4 separate regions of the Homo sapiens genome follow, and all the other regions are linked to region 2. Evidence: promoter capture Hi-C in human tissues and cell types (Jung and others, 2019). All regions are on one chromosome and are shown on one strand. Each heading gives the region's core, a stretch centred on a gene start or on the middle of the fragment in contact. The rest is flanking DNA. Distances are from core to core; before and after follow the strand shown.

Region 1 (2,700 bases), core at 33-2,532, 630 kb before region 2:
GCCTTTGTCACCAGCCGCTTCGTCATTCGCCTGAGCACTTCTAGAGTGTGTAGGGGGCGTTACTAGTGGCAGTGGTGGTCCTCGGGCCGGAGTGTCTCCTTCTGTCTCCCCTCCTCTTTCAGCCCGTCCTTACGAGAAAATCAGGGGCGCGCCGGCCCGGCAGGGAGCTGGGGGCGGCGCTGCCACCAGGCGCCCACTGCGCCCCGCCGCCCCTTCCTGCTCCTCCTGCGGCCGCGGCCGGCCGCGGCCGGCCCCGGCCTTTATCGCGCCTCCCGGGACCGCCGGGGAGAGGCGGGCCGGGGCGGGGCCGGCGGGGGCGGGGTCGGGCGGCCAGGGGCGGGGCCTGCGGCGCCGGGGCCCGGAGCTCGCGGGAGGCTCGCGGGCCGCACGTCACTCCTGCACGGCGAGTGCTGGAGCACGACGTACCGCTCGCTCGGTCAGGGCGCCCCCTCCGCCCGCCTCCTGCTTCCTCCTCCGCTGCCTGCCGCCGCCGCCTCCACCATTGTATAATGCTCGGGGCGCGCAGGCAGAGAACGGCGGAGTCTTAGCTTCAGCCTCGCCTGCTGCCCGCTCCCCGGCGCCACCCTCGGGCCCCTGGAGCGGGGCACTCCGCATGGAGCGGGAGTAGCTGAGGAGTGGGCGGAAACCCCTCCTGATGCGTTAGTTCCCAGGTGGAGCTGCATGTGGTAAGTTCTCCCGGCGTCGGGCTGGAGGGGATCCGCGGGCGCGGGGGGCTCCGGGTGGATGGGGGGCCGGTGTTGGGACTCGGCCAGGGCTGGGAGAGCCCGGAGGGCGGAGGAGGGGCCGGGCGCCGCCGCGGGAGGGAGCCGGGGACGGAGCAGGTACGGGAGGAGCGCTCCCTCCCGCGGCCCCGGTCCGGGCCCCGCGCTCTCGGACCCCCGGCGCCTGCGGGCTGAGCCGCTGGGGGGCAGGGCCGGGGTCAGGAGGGGGTCGGGAGCTCGGAGAGCCGAGCGGCGGGCGGGGGCGCCTGGAGCTGTCGCCTCTACAGCTGGGATGTGTGTGCGCGTTGTGGCGGTTGTGTTGTTGTGAACGTGCGAGACTTTTTTTAAGGCTCGGATTGCTGGCGCGAAGGCTGCTTCACTTTTGAGTTCCGTGGCCGGGTTTGCATCCAACTTACTGTAGTGCGTTTTTGTGAATTTCCCGGTGTTTTTTTTAATAATGTTGAAAACCTTCCTCTCCACCCTCTTTTCTTTCGTCCATGCCCAAATGAATTGATTTGGGATCTACATGTATATTAAACTTAACGTCTCGTTGGTTTTTAAGTTAGAAATCTACAAGTCATCTTCGTGGTAACCGCCTATGACTGAAAGGGAGGGGGCTGAGGGGAGCCAGCTGTCCCAAGCCCTAGACTTTGTACCAGTAAGAGAGGGGGTGTCGTCACAGGGCCACTACATGGACAGAAAATCGTATTTTGTTTTGTTTTCTTGGCTATAAGTTACCTTTAGCAGAAGTGGTAGTAATAGATTGCGATGGGAGTCGAGTTTTAGGTTTAGTTTCTAAGTTTCACGAAAATATCAGGTATAGTTTGCATTGGAATAACTTTTTGCTTGCAAGCCGAGTCGTTTCAGGAGGTAGAAAGTAAGTTTTCACAGACACTGAATGGGGAGGACAGTCAGCAGAGTGAGACAGCCAGCCTCAGACCACAGCAGTTTTTATTTGAATCGAATTGGGCAGCCTCAGTTGGGCTTAGGGTAGAGAGTACATGTTTTCAAGCTTTGTTCATGAAATACGCTTTTTGATTTCCCAATGTATGTTAAGAAATATCCATAATGTGTGTAAAGAGGCTAGAAGTTGTAGTCACCAGGATTCCTGAGGCCCTAAGTGTTCACAGTAGCTTTTTGTAGTTAGAGACTAGTCCCTGACAAGAGTGAAGTGGGCTTTGGGCTTCGCTCCGCCCCTGAAGGACCGTCCACCTGAGAGCGTCTGGGCTGCTTGGCCGATGGGGGTTGGGGGTAGTTGCTCAGCTCAGCAGAAGGCATGTCTCACCCTGGCAGCTCCCATCCCTCCCCCTTTTTATAGCAGTCTATTCTGATATGAGTGTGCTAGGGTGTGCTGTGAAGATGAAAATATCCATCCTAAGATCCCAACTTCTGGAGTGAACAAGAATAGTTTGTTTGTGGATCTCTGCTTTTCTGTTTATTTTTTCAGGGTTTTTTTTCTTTTTATTTAAAAGAGACAAATGTTTAAAAGTTTTCCTTTAGCTTCATTGACTTCTTTAGAGGGGTATTATATGTTAATATAAAATTGTTTATGTCGTTCATTAAGTTTGGAATCCTTTAACAGTTTTTTTTTTTTACTTGTTTCACCCCCTAATTAAAATATACATAACCATGTTGTTCTCAGATGAGAAATCTTATTTTGGATTTGACATCCCCCAACCCCCTTTTTCCTTAACACCCGGCCCTTTTCCTTACTTCATTCAGACAGGTAAGGGAGAGGACTCACATTTTGTAAAGCCAACCAAGTGTATGTGTGACAGGAGGTGTCCTAGGGAACGGTTTTATTGTCAGGCGAATGTCACAGCGTCTTAGGTAACAGCTGCTCAAGCTTGTTTCCCTTGAAGAACTAAGAGAAGGATATTAATTCAGATTTAGAAAATCTTTACACTTCTGTTTGCTGAATTGTCCCTCTTTAAAGCTTTTCTATTTAATTGAGAAGCTAAAATATGAATTTTGCCCA
Region 2 (2,700 bases), core at 149-2,648:
TTTTAGCTATTCTGGAATATTAAATACATTGTTATTAACTGTGGTCATCGTGCTGTGCAATAGATCACTAAAATTTATTCCTCCTACCTGAAACTTTATACCCTTTGACTCACATTTCCCCTTTCCTCATCACCCTTTACCCCCCAGTCTTTGGTAACCACCATTCTACTCTGCTTCTATGTAAACTCATCTGGTTTTATAAGTGATCAGGGATTTAAGAGGACTTCACTCTTTTACAGTTAAATTTATTTCATATTGGGGAATGATTTTCTCACTTTGTTTCTTACATAATTTTAGAGGATTGAACTTAGAAAAATATAATGTAAGAGTTTTCTCTCAACTATTTTTGATGCTTCCTTACTTTTTGTCCTCTTTCCCCAACTTTAGCTCTTTGGTGGGGAAAATATTATTTCATAAAAGTTATGTTTGCAGTTTTCAAAGTGACTTCTTAGAAGTGAAACTTGGATCAACATTTTTTTCAACCCCCCAACTATAAGAGTTACATTTTCACTTTTGATTTGTTAAAACATACTATGTCTTATAAATGCTTGAAATTTATTTTTAGGCAAGAATTTCAACATTGAATAAAATCTTCCCAAAATTAAGTCACAAGCACTCAAAGGATTGAGGATCTTTTTCTTCCTAAAATATATGTGTGTGTGTGTGTGTGTGTGTGTCTTTATATTTATATACTAAGACCTTCCCTTTCTTGTGGACTGTGTTTTATTGGTTTAAAGTTGCAAGTCCTGTGAAACCAGGCTGAAGTCAGAATTAGAAGGTATTAATTATCATACACACTCCAAGTATCTCAGTCAAGTAACAGGAATAACTGATTACAGTGTCTGGGAGGAAGGCCTGGAACTTGGGGAAGACTTGGAGGGGAGGACTGGATGGGGAAAAGGCCTCAATAGAGAGAACTGGGTTGTTGCGGAGGGGTGACCTTTAACCTTTGGAAGGGCATTTACTAGGGAACAGCTGAAAAGCATTTACTTCGAGGGGGTGGGGGAGAGGAGGAATCTCGTGGAAGTATTTGCTTTAATAGGTCCCGGGTGATTTAGGGATGTTTCGAGTCGGTTGGTCTTGGGGGTGGCGAGGGCTACGCTGGAGGGGTCGCGTCCCAGTCCCGGGGAAGGCGGCAGGAGGTTTTCTGGGTGTTCCTGAAAACTGGGAGTTGGGGGGAAGGGTGGTGGGGAAAGTGGAATTCAGCGTGGATTTGTCTGCGTGTAGGACTATTAGAGGAGGCGCAGGGGAGCCACGCGGTGTATTCCCCGCCCCGAGAGAACTCTGGCTGCGCCTGCGACGGGCACGCCGGCCTGCGCCAAGGCCGCTTTCCCCAGGCGGCGGGCGCTCCCCCCGGCCCGGGCCGCGGCCCTCCCGCCCCGGCGGAGCCGCGCGGTGGATTGTGGGCTGGGGGCTGCGGCGGCCTCCGGCGCTGTCTCCCCGCACCCGACCGGGCCGAGCCGGCTGGGCCGGCGGGGTGAGGGAAAGCAGTGGAGTCGGGAGCAGAAGCGCTAGAGGCAGTGGTCGTGGCGCGGCGGCGGCGGCTCCCCTGGAGGCCGGGGATGTGGGAGAGGCGGTGGCAGCAGCGGCGGAGGCGGCGCTGCGGACCCGGGGGAAACTGCTGGCTGACAGGACACCCGGGAGAGACGTGAGGGAGCCGCCGCTGCCACCTCTCACCCCTGAGTGAAGCTGGGCTCGAGAGGGCGGCCCTGTGCTCCCCGGGCCGACTGGCCAGCGGGCGCGGGGCGGGGGCGGGAACCCGGGCTCGGGCCCGGCCGGGCGCCGGGCGGCGGCGGCCGTGGAGCAGCAGCCTCGGTGCGACGTGGAGGGCTGGAGGCGGCGGCGATGCACTAGGCCTCGCTCAGGGCGGCTGCCCCGGGACCCGCAGGTAGGTGTGCCCCGCGGCCCCCCGCGCGTCTCAGCCCACTCTCACCCCGACCTACAGCGGAGAGAGGGACCGAGACCCCACCCCCTCGGCTCTCCTCCCCAGCCCCAAACGGACCGAGTTTCGGTCACAGCTGACCGGCACTGAAGCTTCCATGCTCCTCTCCGCCACTTCCTTTTTTTTTTTTTTTTTTCCTTTTCACTCTCCCTCCGGGATCGGGGCTGGCAGCTGTGTTCCCTGCCTCCTGTCAGCGACCGCAAACGCCGCTCTTGCCCCTCTCTTATCTTTCCGGGATCCCAGCTCTGGAACTTCCATCACCCCCTTAGACGCTGCCCCCAAACTTTCCTTTTCTTTTTCCAGCCAGGCCCTTAGTCCTATTGGATTCTACTGGAATCGTTAAAACATTTGTTTGTTTTTCTCTCCGGGGAAGGCTAACCCAAAGAGTTACTCAGTATTTTGCATTTTGGCAATGTAGCTTGAAATAATTTGTGCAATAATTTTCTTCAGTTCTGCCTCCTTCCATCTCTGCATAGACAGAAAGGGCAGGCCCTCTCTGCCGTTTCTGCTCTCCCGTCGTTGACTTGGGAACTTTGGCTTGCCAATTATAATTAGCCGTTTGGTCTGTTCATGTGTTGAGTTCAAGATGGTATTTTTAGCATTTTGACTGACAGGCGTTTCAAAAAAAAATTTTTTTCTTCTAACCAGCTTTATTTTTTGGTCTTTATTGAGGCTCTTTCGAAGAATTAAATTGTTTGGACTGTTTTTGTTTTTAATTGGCTGTATTTCTGATTTGTCAAATCAAGGGCGGTCTTAAT
Region 3 (2,700 bases), core at 85-2,584, 540 kb before region 2:
CATGGCAAAATCCCATTTCTATAAAAAATACAAAAATTAGCCAGGTGTGGTCGCACACACCTGTAGTCTCAGCTACTAGAGAGGCTGAGGTGGGAGGACTGCTTGAAACCAAGAGGTGAAGGCTGCAGTGAGCAGAGACCATGCCACTACACTCCAGGCTGGGCAACGGAATGGGACCCTGTCTCAAAAACAAACCAAAGAACGCGAAAACATGTTATTCTGGGAGTACCTGTGAGGGTGTTTCTAGATGAGATTAAGATTTGAATTGGTAATCTGACTAAAGCAGATTGCCCTCCCTAATGTGGGTAGGCCTCATCCAATCAGCTGAAGACCTGAATAGAACAAAAATGCTAAGGAACTTCTGCCTGATTTTGAGTTGGTACTTCAGTTGGACTTGAGCTAAAAAATCAGCTCTTCTTAGATCTTAAGCCTGCTGGCTCCTGGGCTGGAACTTACACCACTGCTCTCCTGGTTCTTAGGGCTTTGGACTCAGACTGGAACTACACCATCAGCTCTTGGGTCTCCAGCTTATGCACTGTGGCTTTTGGAACTTCTCAATTTCCAATAATCAATCTCTCTCTCTCTACTACCTCCACTTCTACTTCCCCTCCCCATCCTTCCCTCCCTAACCTCCACACATACCCTATTGGTTCTGTTTATCTGGAGAACTCTAATACACCTCTATTTTATAAATGACTACATCTGGGCATAAAGAGATTAAGTGTATTGCAAGTCTCATTTAGCTTTCCAGAGAGGTGTACACAGGACCCCAGACTCTGGTTCTTATGCCATTCAAATGCCTATCTCCTTTAAAGGACAGCAGGTCCTTGAATAATGTCATTTTGTTGTAATGTTGATGAGAAAAACAACTGATTCCTGGCTGCAGCCACTACCTGTGTGGAGTTTGCACATTTTCCGTATGTCCACCTGGGTTTTTTTTCTGGGTATGCCAGTTTCCTTATAGATCCTAAAGATGTGTACATTAGATTGTCTAAATTGTTCCAGTCTGAGTAAGTGCTGGTATGTGTGTGTGAGTGTGCCCTGCAATGGAATGGCATTCAGGCCAGGAATAGTTTCAGCCTTGTACCCTGAGCTGGAGGGATAGGCTTCGGCCACTGATGACCCTGAGCTGGAATAAGTAGATTGCAAAAAGAATAAATTACAAAGTAAACATTCGTGAAGTCTACAATAATCATACAAATGCACAGCAATAAATTATGCAGTATGAAAGTGCCCAGTGAGCCTGCCAGATTTGTGATTGTTTTTGAATTGTATGGTGGTAGGAGGTGCTCCTTAGATCATTTTTGCTTTGCAAACGTTTATCCCTTGATTTTACCCAGCACCACTATGAGTGATGTCACTCACTGATTCACCAAAAACTGGGTAAGTAATTATGTTTCTTGTTCTTTGTAATCTTTCTTAAATGTGAGCATAGCTCACATTTATTTCAATGTTTAATATTAGAAGTGCTTTGTGTCTTTATTTAGAGGTTCAGTGATGTTTCTGTGACCAGAAAGATGCCATAGAAACTTAACTCTTGTTTATATCAGTTAGCCTATGGTAAAATTGGTTTTGTTATATGTCCTTTCACTTAAAGTTGCAGTTTCCAAGACCCTATCAAGGATATTAAGTAATGACTTAAGTATTTTATATTTAAGGTAACTCTTGATATTCCTTCAACTTATTTCCAGTTAGTTTTCCTTTCTTGCTTAGGGACAGGAGTTGATTAATATCAATAGTTTTAATATTGATAACATTAGGTTTCACACTCAAGTAGAAGTTTAGAAGAAACATTAAAATCCACTGGGTAATTTAATCTTCCATTTAAGAGGATATCTTATGCTGCAGCACCATTAAATATTAAGTAAGCTATCAAGTACAATCTACAACTGTATACTTACCAATCCCCAATTTCAAGCTGTATAAAGAGTGACCAGCTGTAATATTCACCAGATCTAAACATGATTTTTCCCTTCTGTACAGTTTCTGAATAAATCTAATAAAGCATTTCTATTTTGAAATTAAACACCAGATAGTCAAATTTTCTGAGGAAAAAATAGCAAAAGGAAATTCTATCGAAATAGTTAAATAAGGAAAGATCTATAAGGAAAGCTAAAGTCTTACATCTTAATTCTCTTATTTTGTTGCTTACTTCTGTTTTCAGTTGTATGTTCCAGTGTTCACAGGATGGAAAACCTGCATAAATATTAGCTAGATGACTAAATAAGTGAAGATGAAAAGGTAGGACTGGTTATATTCAGTTTAAGAACACTGAGTTTCTATGCCTGTAATCACAGCTACTTGGGAGGCTGAGGCACGAGACTCGCTTGAACTCAGGAGGCATAGGCTGCAGTGAGCCGAGATTGCACCTGCACTCCAGCCTGGGCGACAGAGCAAGATTCCGTCTCAAAAACAAAACAAACCAGTAACTTAATCTTGAACTAACACAAGCCAAGGTATTAGTAATTCTCTTCTTTTTGGTGGCACTTGACTTTCAAAGCTCTCAAAACAAATCTTCAGCTAACAGCATTTTCCCTGTAGCATTATCAATTGGATGTCTAATAAAAAATAACTCATAGCCTCCTTTTCTATACCCAATTAATATAAACAGATTACTTACCAATTACCTAAATTTCTAAATGATATCCAGAACAATATTTTAAAATTTTACAAAAGCTCAGGGGTAAATGCAGTGCTTAT
Region 4 (2,700 bases), core at 49-2,548, 590 kb before region 2:
CAATTCTCCATGTCATTAGAACTGTTTTGAAAATGGGATTTTTTGATGGCTGCAGATTGTTCTCTCATGTGACTGAGCTCTCTTCTTTAAACCCCTCCCACATTGTTAGGTTTTTCCGTTTGTTTGTTTGTTTGTTTTTGAGACAGAGTCTTTCTCCATTGCCCAGGCTGGAGTGCAGTGGCTAGATCTTGGCTCACTGCAACCTCCGCCTCCTGGGTTCAAGCGATTCTCCTGCCTCAGCCTCACAAGTAGCTGGGATTACAGGTGCCACGCCGGGCTAATTTTTTGTATTTTGGGTAGGGATGGGGTTTTGCCATGTTGGCCAGGCTGGTCTCGAACTCCTGACCTCAGGTGATCCACCCACCTCCTTCCAAAGTGCTGGGATTACAGTTGTGAGCCACTGTGCCCAGCCTATTGTTGGTCATTTAAGGCCTCTCTGATTATTCCCATAGAAGAAATTCCTGAAGTAGAATTGTTGGGATAAACAGGCTCTTGACAGCACAATTGGCCCTGAACAAACACCTGCTCTATCAAACCCTCTCCCATCCTCCCCAAGCAGACCAGCCAGAAAGCCCCATCTTCTGGGGCCCTCCTCTCATCCCTAACCCCCAGCCCCCAACCTCTTACAACCCATTCAAAGGCTTAGAAGCAGGTGAGAGGGTCACCTGGAAGATGGGACTTGAGAGACCTGGCCGGCCTATCCCAAATCTCCCCTCGCTCTGATCCGTACTCCACCATCAGAATCATCCCCTTGAGTCAAGGGCAGGGTGATTCAAAGGTTGTTGGCTGCAAAATGGACTTCTGGTGGGAGATATTGTGCAGTGAGCCAACATTCCTTAACACACCACGCTTAGCCCTCCCTGTCACTAGGTTAACAGCAGACACTTGGGTCTCAGGGGATGCGACACATTACAGAGTTATGAATGTGTTAAATTTTATTGTAAATATTATGTAAACATATTTTAAAATATTCTGGAAAAAAGACAAAAAGTTATGGTCACATCTTTTGAATTATTCCACATTTTTCTAGGTGGAATAAGAAGGGACGTAGTTCCTTCCTATGAAATGGGAATAATCTTTAGTGAAGGTTGGAAGTATCTTCAAATGTATCCCAAACCTTCTGGGATAGATTTTCACTCAGCCTATAAATGACGTCCATGAAGCAAGGGTCCACGTTCCTGGCAGAATGCTGGATATGTGAGCCACGCCAGGTGCTGTGAGCCCCTCAGAGACCATTGACAATAGAGGGTCAGAGTGCTTTTCCAGCTCCATTGCCAACAACTTGGGATGTAATCTAAACAGATGCTAAATGGATCAATCCTTTGAGGAAATTTGTGTCAGTTTCCAAGTCACTCCTGGTCATCATCCAGGAAAGACCATTTTTATTAAAGTACCCCAGGGCTGCCTGCAGGAACCATTTTCCCTGTCTCACCAGTCAATAATCAGCAGGACTCCCTGCTATTTCAGGGAACAAAGACAGGGTCGCTGTCCCCGAGAGGCTCAGTCCACCCTCCCGCTCTGTCCACCCTCCAGCGGGGTCTGGGCTCCAGAGCGGAGGTTCTCAAGCTTCCGCAGCGTCAAAACCGCTTGGAGGTCCACGACACCCAGTCTGCTGGTGCAGGGGTTCTCATCCAGAAGATCTTGGGTGGCTACAGGAGCCGCATATTTTTCTACCAAGGTCCCCGGGGATGCGGCTCTTGGCCCCAGGACTGGGCCCAGGAGGTCAGAGAGAGTGACCGTCAGGCGCGGCGCCGCGGGGAGACGGCCCGGGCTCAGATCCCAGGGTGGAGGCGGGGGCGAGCGCCCGGCAGAGGGGACGGGGGGCGCCGAGGGGACCTGGCGCGGCCGCCGGGCCTTGGGAGCGCGACGCGGAAGCCGCCGGAGGCCGGAAGCTGGGGCGCCCCCGAGCGGGCGGGCGGCGGACCTGCGGCTCCGGGCGGTTCGGCAGCGCAGCGCGGCGCGGCCGCCTGCAGGCTCCCAGGCTCGGGTCCAGCCGCCACGACCGGCTCGCGTGGCTCCGGGGGAGCGGCCGAGAGTGAAGCGCGGAGAGGGCGCCTCGGAGGCTGCCGGGGCGGCGGGGCGGTTGTCCTCTGTAGAGGGAGCGGAGCTTCCCCCTGCCCCCAAGAGCACCGGCAGCCCCGGCCCCCCGCATCCTGGCATCCCGGGCCCGGCGGCCAGAGCAGGCCCTGCGCCCCCTCGGCTTTCTGGTCCTCGTGCGTCCCCCGGGGCAGAGGCGCGAGGAGGGACGGCCGGCTGAGGCCTGTCACGCCTTCACTCCCGAGTGTCCAGGCGGACGGGGTCCCTGCCTCTCCAACCCCTCCTCTCCCTTGGCTTCCCCCAGGGCACAGAGCGCTCCTCCTTGTCCACAGGAGACACAAGGCTTCAAACGCACACCCCCACACCCCAATCCTCTCCAAACACACTCAGGGCGCTGGCCACTGGTTCTCCTTCCTCCTTCCTTCCTTCCTTCTTCTGTCTTTTTTTTTTTTTTTTTTTTTTTTTGACAGAGTCTTGCTCTGTCGCCCAGGCTGGAGTGCAGTGGCACGATCTCGGCTCACTGCAACCTCCGCCTCCTGGGTTCAAGCGATTCTCTTGCCTCAGTCTCCCGAGTAGCTGGGATTACAGGCATGCGCCACCACGCCCGGCTAATATTTTTGTATTTTTAGTAGAGACGGAGTTTCACCATGTTGGCCAGGCTGC

Evidence for each region. Contacts are between HindIII fragments. The study calls those that stand out against the background at their distance.
Region 1: a fragment that was not itself captured here is called in contact with the fragment with the promoter of VPS54 in region 2 in 1 of the 25 tissues and cell types used here (liver).
Region 3: a contact is called between a fragment that was not itself captured here and the fragment with the promoter of VPS54 in region 2, in 1 of the 25 tissues and cell types used here (mesendoderm cells).
Region 4: a contact is called between a fragment that was not itself captured here and the fragment with the promoter of VPS54 in region 2, in 1 of the 25 tissues and cell types used here (spleen).

What each region holds. Positions count from the first base shown.
Region 1 is chr2:64,651,606-64,654,305 of GRCh38, reverse strand. SERTAD2 (SERTA domain containing 2) reads left to right here and starts at 393. Exons shown (of 2, transcript NM_014755.3): 1 at 393-686. It overlaps LOC124907776, which reads right to left and starts at 235. Exons shown (of 1, transcript XM_047446580.1): 1 at 1-235. The coding sequence starts at 26. RefSeq lists silencers at 1-579, 317-611, 720-1,049, 1,350-1,429. The HindIII fragment of the contact is 3,819 bases long and covers 1-2,700 here.
Region 2 is chr2:64,018,126-64,020,825 of GRCh38, reverse strand. It overlaps VPS54 (VPS54 subunit of GARP complex), which reads left to right and starts at 1,398. Exons shown (of 23, transcript NM_016516.3): 1 at 1,398-1,888. RefSeq lists a silencer at 1,275-1,984 and an enhancer at 2,145-2,214. The HindIII fragment of the contact is 9,038 bases long and covers 1-2,700 here.
Region 3 is chr2:64,557,208-64,559,907 of GRCh38, reverse strand. All of the region lies in intron 2 of AFTPH (aftiphilin), which reads right to left. LOC105374773 (a long non-coding RNA gene) reads left to right here. Exons shown (of 7, transcript XR_007086343.1): 5 at 1-2,456. Among named protein-coding and RNA genes, the nearest start is that of MIR4434, 33 kb to the right of the region's middle. The HindIII fragment of the contact is 5,920 bases long and covers 1-2,700 here.
Region 4 is chr2:64,608,669-64,611,368 of GRCh38, reverse strand. The region is part of intron 1 of LINC02579 (long intergenic non-protein coding RNA 2579); the gene reads right to left. Among named protein-coding and RNA genes, the nearest start is that of LINC02579, 2.7 kb to the right of the region's middle. RefSeq lists a silencer at 1,632-2,311. The HindIII fragment of the contact is 5,089 bases long and covers 1-2,700 here.